Regions from separate parts of the Homo sapiens genome. Here regions 2, 3, 4 and 5 are each linked to region 1. The links are contacts of gene promoters, found by promoter capture Hi-C in blood cells and fetal thymus (Javierre and others, 2016). All regions are on one chromosome and are shown on one strand. Each heading gives the region's core, a stretch centred on a gene start or on the middle of the fragment in contact. The rest is flanking DNA. Distances are from core to core; before and after follow the strand shown.

Evidence for each region. Contacts are between HindIII fragments. The CHiCAGO score rates a contact against its expected background, and 5 or more counts as called.
Region 2: a fragment that was not itself captured here is called in contact with the fragment with the promoter of NLE1 in region 1 in 1 of 17 cell types (neutrophils); the score reaches 6.5 in neutrophils.
Region 3: a fragment that was not itself captured here is called in contact with the fragment with the promoter of NLE1 in region 1 in 3 of 17 cell types (naive CD4 T cells, activated CD4 T cells and total CD8 T cells); the score reaches 5.6 in naive CD4 T cells.
Region 4: a fragment that was not itself captured here is called in contact with the fragment with the promoter of NLE1 in region 1 in 1 of 17 cell types (total B cells); the score reaches 5.2 in total B cells.
Region 5: a contact is called between a fragment that was not itself captured here and the fragment with the promoter of NLE1 in region 1, in 1 of 17 cell types (M2 macrophages). The highest score is 5.9, in M2 macrophages.

Annotation. Positions count from the first base shown.
Region 1 is chr17:35,140,871-35,143,570 of GRCh38, forward strand. It overlaps NLE1 (notchless homolog 1), which reads right to left and starts at 1,433. Exons shown (of 13, transcript NM_018096.5): 1 at 1,388-1,433; 2 at 1,109-1,252. The coding sequence starts at 1,405. RefSeq lists an enhancer at 864-1,741. The HindIII fragment of the contact is 3,765 bases long and covers 1-2,700 here.
Region 2 is chr17:34,527,360-34,530,059 of GRCh38, forward strand. No RefSeq gene overlaps it. Among named protein-coding and RNA genes, the nearest start is that of TMEM132E-DT, 51 kb to the right of the region's middle. The HindIII fragment of the contact is 1,910 bases long and covers 367-2,276 here.
Region 3 is chr17:35,667,217-35,669,924 of GRCh38, forward strand. All of the region lies in intron 14 of AP2B1 (adaptor related protein complex 2 subunit beta 1), which reads left to right. Among named protein-coding and RNA genes, the nearest start is that of RASL10B, 63 kb to the right of the region's middle. The HindIII fragment of the contact is 186 bases long and covers 1,163-1,348 here.
Region 4 is chr17:34,397,806-34,400,679 of GRCh38, forward strand. No RefSeq gene overlaps it. Among named protein-coding and RNA genes, the nearest start is that of CCL1, 36 kb to the left of the region's middle. The HindIII fragment of the contact is 2,249 bases long and covers 204-2,452 here.
Region 5 is chr17:34,448,641-34,451,527 of GRCh38, forward strand. No RefSeq gene overlaps it. Among named protein-coding and RNA genes, the nearest start is that of CCL1, 87 kb to the left of the region's middle. The HindIII fragment of the contact is 2,043 bases long and covers 258-2,300 here.

The DNA.
Region 1 (2,700 bases), core at 183-2,682:
TAAGCCACTGCACCCGGCCTGAAATTCTTTATCTGCATCTCATAACAACCGTGGGAAGTAGATACTAATATTCCCACTGACAGTTTTCAAAAGCAGAGGCTCAGAACAACTAAGTAATTAGTTCAATGTCCTATTGCCAATGATTAATTCAGGTTCTTTACGTCCAAGATAGGATTAGCATATAGCATTATGCAGTGTTTCCCAAACTACCACACTACACTATATTTGTGTAAAAAGCTCCCAAAACGCCTGTTAAAAAATGTAGACTTTCTGCTTCATCCCAGAGTTTGGTTTAGTAAGGCTGGGATGGGGTCCAGGAACTGCAATTTTAAGGACCTCCCCTGTCCCCAGGGCAGCTCTTCAGTAAACACACTGGCTTAAAGGTTAAAAGCAAAGGCCGGGTGCGGTGGCTCACGCCAGTAATCCCCAGCACTTTGGAGGCCAAGGCGGGAGGATCACGAGGTCAAGAGATCGAGACCATCCTGGCCAACGTGGTGAAACCCAGTCCCCACTAAAAATACAAAAATTAGCTGGGTGTGGTGGCGCGCGCCTGTAGTCCCAGCTACTCGGGAGGCTGAGGCAGGAGAATCGCTTGAACCTGGGAGGCAGAGATTGCAGTGAGCAGAGATCACGCCACTACACTCCAGCTTGCCAGCCTGGCGACAAAGTGAGACTCCGTCTCAAAAAAAAAAAAAAAAAAGGTAAATAAATAAATAAATAAAAGCATGGGTATTCGGATAGTTTTGGGTTCCAATTCCAAATCTGCTACCTACTACATAGCATCGTGCAAAATACTGAGTCCCTCCGGGCCACGCTGTAAAATGGGGATATTAACGTGTCCCAGACTGGGGGACTGTGACAAAGAATCAATGAAATACAGCATCCGGTGCGTTCAAAGCTAGGCCCCTCTCCGCAGGTGGACCCCTTTGGTTGGCGTGTAAAGCGCTATGCCACTGATTCCATCTCTGACATAGGTGGGAGCTCACGCCAGGTGGGTCACCACAGTCCGTTAGCGGGGGACCATGAACCGCAGACCCTCGGTAATATGATTCCCCCACCGCATCCGCCCGGGGGTGGAGATGCGAGGCCGCCCTGGCCAGCCACTTACCTGGGCCAGTAGCGCGTTGCACACGAGCTGCAGCCTGTCCGGGGTGATGTCCACGGGCACGTCGAACGGGGAACCCAGCAGCTGCCCGCCCTCATCCTGGAACTGCACTAGCAACCGCTGCACATCGCGCGCCACCGCCTCGTCCTGCGCGAGCAAGTGGGGCGGGAGTCAGTCTGGTCGCCCGCCCAGAAGGGCCCCACTTCGCCTCTCTCAGGCCTCAGGGACCCGGGCCCTAGCGCCCCGCGGCGACGCCCCCCGCCCCCATCCACGCACACCCACCGGCACTGCTGCCGCCATCCTGCGTCCCCACGTGGAGGAGAAAGAGCCCGGCAGACAGAGCGCCGTCTCCGTGGTCGGGCGGGGTCGCCGCCGGCCACATCGCCCTCTGCTGTTGGGGAGGAGAAGCGTCCCGCTGCGCACGGCCTCAGGGATTAGAAATGGGCTTACCTGGTGCTCCTCCCGCCCCTCAACAGCCTTCACATTTATTTTTCGCCAGGGTCTTAGAGGACACAGTAAACTTTTGACTCTTCACAACAGGGATTCTTGCCCCATTTTAATTTAATTTCATTTTGAGACAGAGTTTCACTCCGTCGCCCAGACTGGAGGGCAGTGGTGCCACCACGGCTCACTGCAGTCTCGAACTTTCTGGCACAGCGATCCTCCCACCTCAGCCTCAGAGTAGCCTGGACTACAGGCACATGACACCCTGCCCGGTTATTTTTTTCTCATTTTTTGTAGAGACGAGGTCTCACTATGTTGCCCAGGCTGGTCTCAAACTCCTGAACTCAAGCAGCAAGTCCCCCACTCCCCAGCCTCAGTGTCCCAAAGTGCTGGGATTACAGGTGTGAGCCACCACGCCTAGCCTAGAAATTAGTATCCTTTTAAAAATGGATCAAGTCAAGGCTGGGCGTGGTGGCTGACACCTGTAATCCCAGCGCTTTGGAAGGCCCAGGCGAGCAGATCACTTGAGTCCAGGAGTTCGAGACCAGCCTGGCCAACATGGTGAAACCAGGTCTCTACTAAAAATACAAAAAAATTAACCAGCCGTGGTGGCATGCGCCTGTGGTCATAGCTACTGGAGAGGCTGAGGTGGTAGATTCTCTTGAACCTGGGAGGCAGAGGTTGCAGTGAGCCGAGCTCTCACCACTGCACTCCAGCCTGGATGACAGAGCAAGACTCTGTCTCAATAAATAAATAAATAAATAAATAAATAAATAAATAAATAAATAAATAAAATGGATCAACTCAATAATACTCGAGTACAAAAGCAAATCATTTCTACAATCATCAATGCTGTAAAGCAATAATAGTGATAATGACATCAACAAGTCAGGAATTGTTCTAAGTGCTTTCCCACATAACTCATTTAATTCTTACAACCCTTTTCTCCCCATATTACTGAGGAACTGAAGCAGACAGCAATGAACTTGAGCTCTTTTGCCTGAAACGAAGGATCTCCCTTGCCAACTCTCCTCTCTCTCCCTCCACTGCTCAGGCAGTCTCAAGCTCTGCCAAGTCATCCTCATGAACACAGCTTGAATCTGCTCTCCCCATCTCCACTGCCTCACTCTGGTCAGAGTCACCATCATCAC
Region 2 (2,700 bases), core at 72-2,571, 610 kb before region 1:
TCCCTGCTGCCCACAGCCGGGAGGTCCCTGAGCTCTGCCTGTTCTCATCCCGGTCCACTGCCCCTTCTGGGGACCTTGGCATCTCCTGGCTGTACACTGGCCATCCTGCCCGCATGACTGGCCCCCACACCAGCTTCCTGTACTTATACATTGGTTACTTGGTTCATTCAACTCCTACTGCGTGCCAGGACCTACTATGTGCTAGCACCACTGCTAATCCCTGCCTACTGGAGTGAAAAACATAGTTCCTGCTTTCTAGGAGCTTACAGGGTAGTGGAGGCGGGATGGTGGGTTTCGGGGGGGTTGGGAGGGGGACCATGAGACTCCACGAACTTGGGAATGAACCCTTTCAGGGAGGGGTGGTGAAGCTTAGGGTGAGGTAGGTCCGGTGCTGTAGGAGGAAAAGGGCGGCGCAGCTGCTGCCACAGAACGGGTCCCAGCACAGGGGAGGCATGAGTTCAGCCTTAAAGGACGAATAGGAGTCAGCCACCTGGGCTTTGCCCCTCCCTGTTTTCCATCTGTCAAAATTCTAACTAAAAGGCCCAACTTAAAAACCCTTTCCCCACCACACATGCTTCCACTCTTATGAGTACTCAGTAAATGTTGCAGGCAAGGTCCTTCCCTAGGCCCCTGCTGACTGTGCAGGGTCCGCTTAGGGCCTCCCTTCCCCGGGTGGTAAGAACAGCGCCCCCTAAAGTTCTGCAGTGCACAACCTGCACAGCTACACAGGATGGCCCTTAGGCTATCGGTGATTTTCTTCCTCAGCATCAGCCCTGCCTGCTTTCACACAGCAGAATATCAAATCCGTCCTCACCTTGCTCGACTCTGCTGCCCATCCACCACTCTGTCCATTTCCACCTGCCTCACAGGCCCCTCTCCTTCCTTGAAACCTTACCTCTGCTTTCAATGGCTTCTGCTGACGTGGCAAACCACGTTTAAAGTGACCACGGCCATAGTCCTGTCCCATCTGTGTTCTCAGAATCCTCCTCTGAGCATCGTTTTAAGAAATATATCGATTCATGGAATTAGGGAGTGTCAGCATGTGTGCATGGACTACAAATGGAAAAGGGAAGTCACGTCATTGACCATATACTGTGTGCAAGCCACCGTGCTAGCTGCTTCACATATCTAGATAGAGGCTATTTTAAGTGAAAAGAAGAAAATTATCTCAGCCTTTTAGGATGGAATGGAAGGGAGCCAAAGCTGGAGGCATTTGCTGAATGCACACATTGAATACATATATGACAAAGCGCTTCAAGTTCCATTTTCTCCCTTCCTGAAACTCCTTCTGTACATATAATGCCCTTTGGTCTATCATGATAGTGTAGATGAGTGTGAACTGAAACAGACAAATGAGGGCTTGAGACTGTCTTCCTAAGAGTGGGAATTGAGCCCATCATTTCAGCTCTCTAGGCCTCAACTTCTTCATCGATGCTGTAAAGGTAACACTAGAAGCACCTCGCAGGCTCACCAGGATTTACTGGGCAACCCCACACCAAGTGTTTAACATGCTGCCGGTCACATATTAAGCAATACACATGAGCTACTCTTACTGTTGCCGTCATTGTTGAGATGCCAGCTTCTTTCCTTGTTGGAGTCTCCATGCCTGCTCAGTGTACATTTGAGTGATGAGGATGAGGATGGCAGGAGCTGCACCAGCCCCATTCCCATGCCCATCTCCATGGGTCCAAGCAATCCAGCAAGTGGGAGTCAGGGGGCAGCCCTGAGAGAGGTATCCTGGAAAGCACTAGTTGGGGCACTGGTTCTGCCAAGTCCACTTTTCTGGGAGCCACTGTCACCACACGAGGGTGCGAGAAATAAACCAGGAGTATGCATACAGCTCCCCAAAGGGTGCTGAGAGGCCGAGAAGGTTGATGTTTTCCAAGTGATTTGAGATTGTCAAGTAAAATCCCCTATGTAAATATGATTCCCTAATGGATTCATGGCAGCAAGGGAGATGTCGTTCAACTGACTATTTAACAAAGCTGTTTAAAGAGAGAGAGATGGTGGAGATCATGTTTTATGTATTAGATGTGAAAAAATTCTCTTTAAAATTTGTCTCAGTCATCTGAACGCTGGAGTTCCGATAAAGACCCAAGTTTTATGATAGATGTTTTACAAGGATGCACACCTTCTCTGGCCTTCTCTGGCATCACCCCACCCTCCACTTCCTTCCCTGATCAAATCCTCAAGAGATACATTTAATCCTCCCCCATTCCCAAAATGTTCTAAGGCAAATATGCAATATCATTTTTCAAGTGTGCATTAATAATGCAAGCTTTACACCAAGTTTTCAAACTGGATTGGCATCCTGGGCCGATGTAGAAATGTCTGGGTCAAATATACTTTAAAGAAAAATTTCTTTAATTAGTTTCTTTTGAACGTTACACAAAGGCCTTGCCTGATAGCGAGGCAATTTATTGCCATCTTGACATTGCCTCCGTGTTTATCAGTTAAATGATTCTATTGCATTGAAAATAGGACATCTTAGCTCTGAAGGACCTTGCAGACTTGTGTACTTACTATCCTTCTCCTTGTCTGCTTTTGAGAAGGCTCTGGGCATTGTTCTCTCTGGTTTGAAGGTGAAAGGGTGGTCAGCCTGGCCTGGAGATCAAAGTCATTTGGCCAACATTATAGAACAAGGAGAAGCCAGAGTTAGATGAATAACTCAAATCTCCCTGTATGATCCTGGCAAATTGC
Region 3 (2,708 bases), core at 6-2,505, 530 kb after region 1:
AGTAGGATAATCTCCATTAGAATATTTTTCAGTTAAGAGGGAAGTTGCTGAATAGTCCGCATAAGCTGTAGTCTTGCTAGTTAGAAAACATGTATAGTATTGAAATTGTCCTTTCCCTTTGCTCTCTGAACATAGTACAATTAGGTGAACCTTTGTATCCCTGGCTGTGTCTCTGATATCTTTTGGACCCTGTCTTTGTGTCAGATCAGAGTTCATGTTTCTAGCTGAGTTGTATCTGATATACTGAACATAAACAGAGGAATGTCAAGATTGCTTTTCAGTTCTTCATGATTTTGAATAAAATTGACAAGCACTGGGGGACAGTACTTTCAGATCCTTTCCAGCTAAGATAATATTCATATATCATTCAACGATAAAAAGAATGAAATCTAAGAAAATAAGGGCTATGAATGTGCTTTCTTTCCTTTGGTCTAAACACTACCCATGAATCTCTTTTCTCAATGCCTTTTATTGAATTTAGCAAAACTGCTGTTTCCTTTCCAATGTGTTTTTCTTTCTTGCTGTTCTGTGCCAAGCAGGTTCATAAAGAATTCTATCTCTTTGAATCTTGGATTATAAGCCTAGCCAGAAGAGGGGAGAATAAGTTGCGGTGAGAGGGGGTAAGCCCATCAGAAAGTCGAAAACCACCTCAGAGTATCAGGACAAATGAAACATTTTTCGTAGGATCCTTTCCATGGGTTTTCCTCGCTGCTCAAATTTTTTTTTTTTTTTTTTTTTTGAGACGGAGTCTTGGTCTGTTGCCCAGGCTGTAGTGCAATGGCATGATCTCGGCTCACTGCAACCTCTGCCTCCCAGGTTTAAGCAATTCTCCTGTATCAGCCTTCTGAGTAGCTGGGACTACAGGTTCCCGTCACCAGGCCCAGCTAATTTTTGTATTTTTAGTAGAGACGGGTTTCACCATATTGGTCAGGCTGGTCTTGAACTCCTGACCTCAGGTGATCAACCGGCCTCGGCTTCCCAAAGTGCTGGGATTACAGGTGTGAGCCACCACGCCCGGCCTCTCTGCTCAAATCCTGACTTCCTTTTTATTCACAAGTTCCAAAGTCATTTCTGAGCAGATGAAGTCTTGTCTGACTCTAAATAACTGATTCTCTAACGGCAGTGTTTTCAACCTTGGCTGTACATTAGAATCAACTGGGGAAGCTTTTCAAAATTCTGATGCCCAGGCTACACCCCAGAACAATTAAATTACCATCTCTGGGGGCGAGTACTTTTTAAAGCGCTACTCTCTGCAACCCCCACACACAGATGGTTGATTCCATTGTGTATCCAAGGTTGAAACCATACTACTGAAACATAATTGACATAGTTATTAGTATTCTTAGAAAGCTTAGTCTAAGAAACCTCCAGGTTTTTATGAAGGGGAAATTAAAAAATTAAAAGACAGCCTTTGCAAACTTATTTTGTATGAGTATTTTTTTAAAACACATATCAACCCTGTGTTCCAGTCTAACTGGCCTTTTCATTCTTCCATGCTTTCTTCACCTTTGTTCATGCTATTTGAGAAATGGCCTTCCCCCATTTTTGCTTTTTATAATTCCACCCTACCACCTTTTTGAAGTTTCTCTTCATTCTTTCAGCCAGAGGGAGGTTCTTCCCTTCAGAACTTCGCTTTTTTGCTTTAGTATATTCTGTATGGTTTTGCATTTGTGTTTTATTTCTCCAGCTAGTTTGCAAAGCTTCATTCTTATCTATGTAGTCCCCTCATTGCCAGGCATCTTTATATCCCTTGTAATGCCTTGCATCCAGTAAATGTTATGTAAATGTTTGTTTGAATAAAAGGAATTTCAGACGTCATGCTGCAGATGTGTGCTATGATAGAACTAGGGAGAAAGCAGATGTGTAGTATCTTTTCTATTCCCTTCACACTTTTCTAGTTACTCAAATTCTTGGTTTGGGGATGCCTTTTTTTTTTTTTTTTCCGAGATGGAGTCTTGCTCTTGTTGCCGAGGATGAAGTGCAATGGCATGATCTCAGCTCACCGCAACCTCCGTCTCTTGGGTTCAAGGGATGCTCCTGCCTCAGTCTCCCGAGTAGCTGGGATTACAGGCGCCTGCCACCACAGCCTGCTAATTTTTGTATTTTTAGTAGAGACAGGATTTCACCATGTTGGCCAGGGTGGTCTCAAACTCCTGACCTCATGATCCGCTCACCTTGGCCTCCCAAAGTGCTGGGATTACAGGCATGAGCCACCACGCCCAGCCAAGGATGATCTTTTTATTTATTTAAGTATGTGATTTTCATCCCCTGTGCAACCATTAAGTAGTCTTCAGGAATCAGATTCTGGAAATGTTAGCTCTGGTTTGGAATGCTTATAGTTTACAACAGAGCATGCTTGCTAATGCCAGTTATGAAGCACCTACCAGGGTTATTTTCTTTCATGGTTTAAACAGAACTTTGTTGTAGTCGTCACTATTTTTCAATATTTAAGATTAATTTTTAGATTTTTGAGAATGCCATTTTATGTACTACTCTCTGTTCATTGAGAAGATAAATCCTCTTTCCCCAATCTTAAAGATGCAAAATAATTTTTACAGCTCAACGACCTGCAACTTTCTACCACTAAATGACTATAAAGGAGAATGTGCTTAGAACAGACAAGGCATTTGATGATTCAAGGAAGTGTTTTAGATGCACAGTAAGAACTAGGGAAGAAACAACTGTGGAACTGTAGCAAAAAGTAGATT
Region 4 (2,874 bases), core at 78-2,577, 740 kb before region 1:
CTGGTGTCTTAGCTAAGATACTTTGGGTTATGAGTAACAGAAACAGAAGCCGATTCAAGTTTTCACTTAGCACAGTGTTTAGCAAATAGTCGATGCACCATAAATAAGTGGTGAATGAATGAATGAGTGTCTTAAGAAAGTAGGAAAGGTATCAGAAGAATCCTGGGGCGTCATGTGGTATCTAAAAGAAACCTGGAAATCAAAGCTTCAGAAAGATCAGAAATCATAGGCAGCTCTGGTGATCTCAGCAGGAGTTTGTGACCAACGAGTACAGAGACCAGGATCACCAGTTCCTCCTGCCACACCTCTGCCCCAGCCCTGGCAATGCCGGAGAAGTAGCCTGGTGTTCACGTTTGTGCATATGACTGAGTGTCTTTGACAGGTTGAGTCCCCATAGAATGTGTTACATGAGATGCTAAAGAGATGGAAAATAGAGGTTGCTTTTCAGGTTCCATTTCCAGTCAAGATTCATAACAAGCACGGATGCTTAACCTGCCCCCCAAGATCAACTCCAGAGGAACACAAAGGAAGGGAAAACTGAAAACCAGGAGGAACCATGGGGGTGTGGTCCTATTTTGAATTGGACGGTAGGGCGGAAGGTGATGGTGTGGCCTGGGCAGGACGTATCCCAGCACAGCAGCAGAAGTGTAAAAGAGAGGGGGAAATATTAGGAATTCTGTTCTTTCTTCTCCCCAGTCACAGCCTTGGGAAAAACCTGTGGAGACTAAATCTTATGCCCTCATTATTGTCAGGAGTAAAATCAGAGCTGTACAGAAGTCCTGTGCTAAAGGGAGGCTGAGCAAAGCAGGCAGAGTGACTGACTTGGGCCGTTACTTCCTCTCCCGTCCTATCTGAACTTCTGGGGCTGTAAAATTACTGTCTAAAGAGTGGATCCTCTCTATGGGTGGCAAAGGGTTAAGATTGAGCTGAGAGGTGTCTTGGTAAGTGTTTTCTCATGCCAGGGGTTCCGCACCTTAAGGCTCACCTCTCCCTACTTCCTGAGTTCACTGGAATTGAAGTAGATAGAATCTGGCATCTCACCACCAACACTGCCAAAAGGAGTAACCAATACTCTCAGGGAAAAATGAGCTCACAAGTCAAAACAACAGGACAATTGAGGAGCACAAACATTTCAATAGAAAATAGTTATGTTTCTGGGCCCAGAGGCCAGGCTGGGTTGGGGACCAGGATCCCAACCCTGTGACAATGGGAGAAAAGGGGACTGGAACTGTTCCTGAGCAAATACCTCATGGCAAGTACCATGTGGGCTTCTCTGTACACCATCTTGCTTAATCTCACCTCTGTCCTTTGAGATAGGACTTGTCACTACCACGTCACAAGTCAGAAGCTGAGGCTCGGAGCAGTCACATGGCTTCTTAAAGGAGACCCAATTTACAAATAGCATGACAGATTTTAACCTAGACCTAAGCTCTGGAGTCAGACCATCTAGATTTAAGTCACTTCCTAACTGCATGAACTTGACCAAATCATTTAACTTCTCTGACCTCAACTTCCTCTTCTGCAAAACAGGGCTAAAAATTGTACCTAACTCATTGGATTGTTGTGAGGATGCAATGAATTTAGAATAGCTCCTGATAGTTATGTGGTACTCAGTAAACATTGGTTGTTATTTTAATTATTTCCAGCTGTGTACCTGTGCCTTTAACATTCAGCCTTTCTGGTAAAATGTAATAAATCTCCTCTCTTCTTGTTTAAGTAGCAACCAATTGGAATTGTTACACATTTGCTTCTTAAATAGAGTCCACCTACATGGTCTAGAAAGGAAGAAACAGGGTGAGTTCTGAGATCAAATCCTAATTTTTAACAGAGAGCTCAAAATGAGAGAGTATGTCCTGCTTTGGAAAAGAGATTTCTCTAAGCACCCAGAAAGGACACAGGTATTACCAGAGAAAGGATTCTGTTCCAAGATCTAAACTTATCCAGAAGGAATCAAAAGCAAAGGCTAAAATATTAAACATTAGGGAATGCTTCCTTAACTAATTAAACACCAATGCAACGGAATATTATGAAACTCTCAAAACTTATCTGTACACATAAGGCATTAAACACACTCACACACATACTTGTGAAACAGTTAAATGCAAAAAACACAGCACAAAACAGTGGGTAGACTATGATTCAGTTCTGGAAAAATACAGCTATCTGTGTAGACACAGAGAGAAAATTACAAGGGAAGTGTGCTAACATGCAGGGAATGGGGGTAACTTTTTTGAGACTTTCCTTGAAGTTATAGTCCTTTCAAAAGAAATGCAAAATATTGAGGAATAGAACTATGTTGTACATTTATGTTTTAAAAAACTCACACCAATGCAAATCTAATTTATTTTTCTTTTGCAGGAAGTTAATCTGAAACATATATGGTCTTATATTGATGTATTCTAACTATATAAAAATACACAAAGTCACCTACACACAAATCCACACCCATAGAAGCTTGCAGAAGGACAAGCGATTCATAAGCATCACTGGAATGGGAAGCTGTTTCCAATCAAAGACCCAGAAAGGATTGATGGGAGAGAGGACCTACGATGTGCCTAGAACTTTACAGCAAGTTTCCTATAGGAATTTCCATATTAACCCTTCAAAGTACTTAGCATTATCCCCATTTGCAGATGAGGAAGTGAGGCTCGGAGATGTGAAGTGACTTGCCAGGCATCACACAGCTCGTGGGTGTGGCTTCCACCTCACCACACTCTGATAGGCACCAGTGTCAGGCACAATCAGATACAAAGTCAGTGAGTTTGGAGCTTTTCTCAATTGGCCTCAACACCTCCTAACTGTCTCTTTGCAAAGCAGCCCACTCTTACCAGAACAGCAGCTTCTTCCTCTGCCCTCCCCCAGTCGAACCCTGCA
Region 5 (2,887 bases), core at 29-2,528, 690 kb before region 1:
AAGGGGAAGGCAACATGTTTGAGGCTGGAAGAGGCAGTCAGGGGCCAGATTGCAGAGGGCAGGTTTGCCCAATTAGGGAGTTTGCACAGACCCCAGAGGCAATGGGGTACATGGAGAGGAGTTAAGCAAAGAAATGCCATGATCAGATGTCTGCTGGTTGCTTAGGGGACTTACGTTGTTCATCTGGGTAGCAAAAGGCTCCAGCAAGTTGGGGTCAGGACCTCTTCCACTACCCCCATGCATCTGGAGAGGGCAGAAGCTTTCCCCAGGGCTGCTGGGCGCTACTAGTTTAATCTGAGTTTCATGGTGCATTAGCAATGAGCTCTCAGGATCAGCCAAGTCCCTGGTACTAATCAGCCGCTGAGGCAGGATCGATGGCAACTACATTGATCTTGCTTTTTAGCTTTGGCTCCTTATAGAGCTTATTGACTGGACAATCTAAGAGGGCGGGGGATGTGCACCCAAGTCTCACCGAACTGTGGTAGAAAAGCGAGGAGAAGGGTCCCTCACAGGTCCTGCACCTCACTCTAGTCTCACACTCATCCTGAATGTGGCCCCCACTGCCAAATCCTACACCCTACACAAAATCATGGTGTTCAAGGCTTCAGCCTCAGCTGTTGCCACTCACTCTCCGTGTTCAGGTTTGAACCCACAGAAATGCCTTTCCAGCTCCTCTGCCTCTAGATACGTTCTTCTCTCTAACAAGGATGTGACTGACTCCTACCTCAATTTACCCAGTCTGATCTCTTCCTTCCTCCAGATCCAGCTCAAATATCGCCTCCTCTAGGAAGCCTTCTGTGGCCTAACCTCACCCCCAAAGCACCAATAAAGTCTTCTGTATGTCCACAGCATTTGATATGTAACTGTATGTATGACACTGATACACTTTTACAACTAATTACTGTGTCTGTCTCCCCAGAATGTAAGTTATTTAAGGACCTAGCATACAGCAGATGCTCAATGAAGGGTTCTGGAGTGAATGAGTGAACAAATGAATGAAGAAATGCTTTAAAATATCATACAGATTTCAGATTTATTTCTTTAATCCTGACCCCGCACAGCCCTCTAAGGGTACAGAATAGCAGAGACTCTGCCTAATCTAATATGGATGGCACTGGTTCAGATTTATACCTGAAATATTAGAACTGGGAGGAAACTTATGCCTTATTGTTATTGAGTTCAATCCCTAATTTTATAGTTGGGGCCACAGGTCCAGGGACAATAACTGACTCACTCAAATCTCACAAAAGCAGATGGCAGGCTGAGAACCCTCCAGGTGCTACTTTATGTGGACATGACCATGAAAGTGGGGGATAGCAAAGCCCACTGAACACCTCCAGGTATTCCCACCCATCACTCTGACTTCCTGTAACAGTCTTTGTCTCTTGAGGTGCATCTGGCTGAACAGGTACCTATTAGCTGGGCCACAGGATGGAGGCTCCCAGAAGACAAAAGTTCTTTCTTACAGTGACTCACTATATGAAAAAAGGGCTTTATTTCATATCTACAAGCCTCAGTTTCCCAATCATTAAAATGGGGGAAAAGATTATCTGCCTTTTCTCTTCTGGTCTTAGGAGAGGCTACTCCTTGAGCAAAGCCTGCCATTCTTTAAAAAATATCTTCACAGGTCATGCCATCTGGTATCGATGAGAGAAGGCAAGAGAACATGGGGTCTAGGAAGTCAAGCTGAGAACATAGCCTGTTTTTGTTTGTTGGTTTACTTTTTATTGAAATACAACATACAGAAAAATGAACTTATCATAAGTGCACAGCCCATACATTTTTCAAAAACTGAACCAATGTGTACATAATATGTAGATCAAGAAATAGAGCCTTCCCGAAGCTGCCCTTGGACTCCCTTCCCATCACTACTGCCTAAATCCACCATACTGATCTCAAGCACCATAGATTAGCTCTGTCTCTTTTTGCACTTCATAGAAACAAAATCTTATAACTGCTCCTCCTTTGTGTATACCTCCTTTTGTACAACATCATGCTTCCATAAGGTTGTGTGTCATTGTAGAGTGGCCATTCTAATTGCTAGATATTATTCTATTGTATAATTATATTATGATTTGCTTATCCATTCTACTATTGATGGACATTTGGGTAGTTTCCAGTTTGGTGCTATTACAGATAGTGTTAAAATAGTCTGTTTTTAATATTTTAAACAATCACTTAAAAAGACAGATACTTTAAAATATCCAGGAAGAAAATAATTGTATATTCATGCTTCCATTTAATAAATATTTGTCAAGCACCAACTGTGTCCTGGAATGGTCTTCTCCCTTCCTCTCCTAAGCTTAGCCTTTACAGAACAGGTGACATCCCACCTCTTCTACAAAGCATTTTTGCTTGCCCCCAACCTATAGTGACATTCTCCCAACCCTTAAGCCTCAAGGTAGGTCTTGCCAAGAACACACAGTAGACCATGAGCCCACCCTGCTAGCCTTGTTCCTGCTCCTTCTCTGCTTATTTTCAGGTGGGCACTTCTGAAAAGCAGGTATCATCTTTCTCTGCCTTCCACAATACCATGCACAACACTGGGCACATTATCAAACTCACAGAATATACATTCAATTTAACTAGATCTCAGCCATAAGAAGGTGATGTAAATGCATGAAGACCCCCACTCTCTGTCTCTACCCCAAGGATAATATTTTTGCAAAACATGGAAAAGATCTATGCCAAACATGGGCAAAACCCACGGACAGCGATGGATGGAGAAATGCATTGCAGTAGCCTTGATAGCCAAAATGAATTGGTTCCAGAGCCTGAGCTCTATGTTGTGGTTTATAATCACTTCTCTCTCCACTCCTTGGTGCAAATAATCAGTAGACACTGAAGTTTTGGATAGAGGACAAATTTCAGCACCATGGGTAGATCA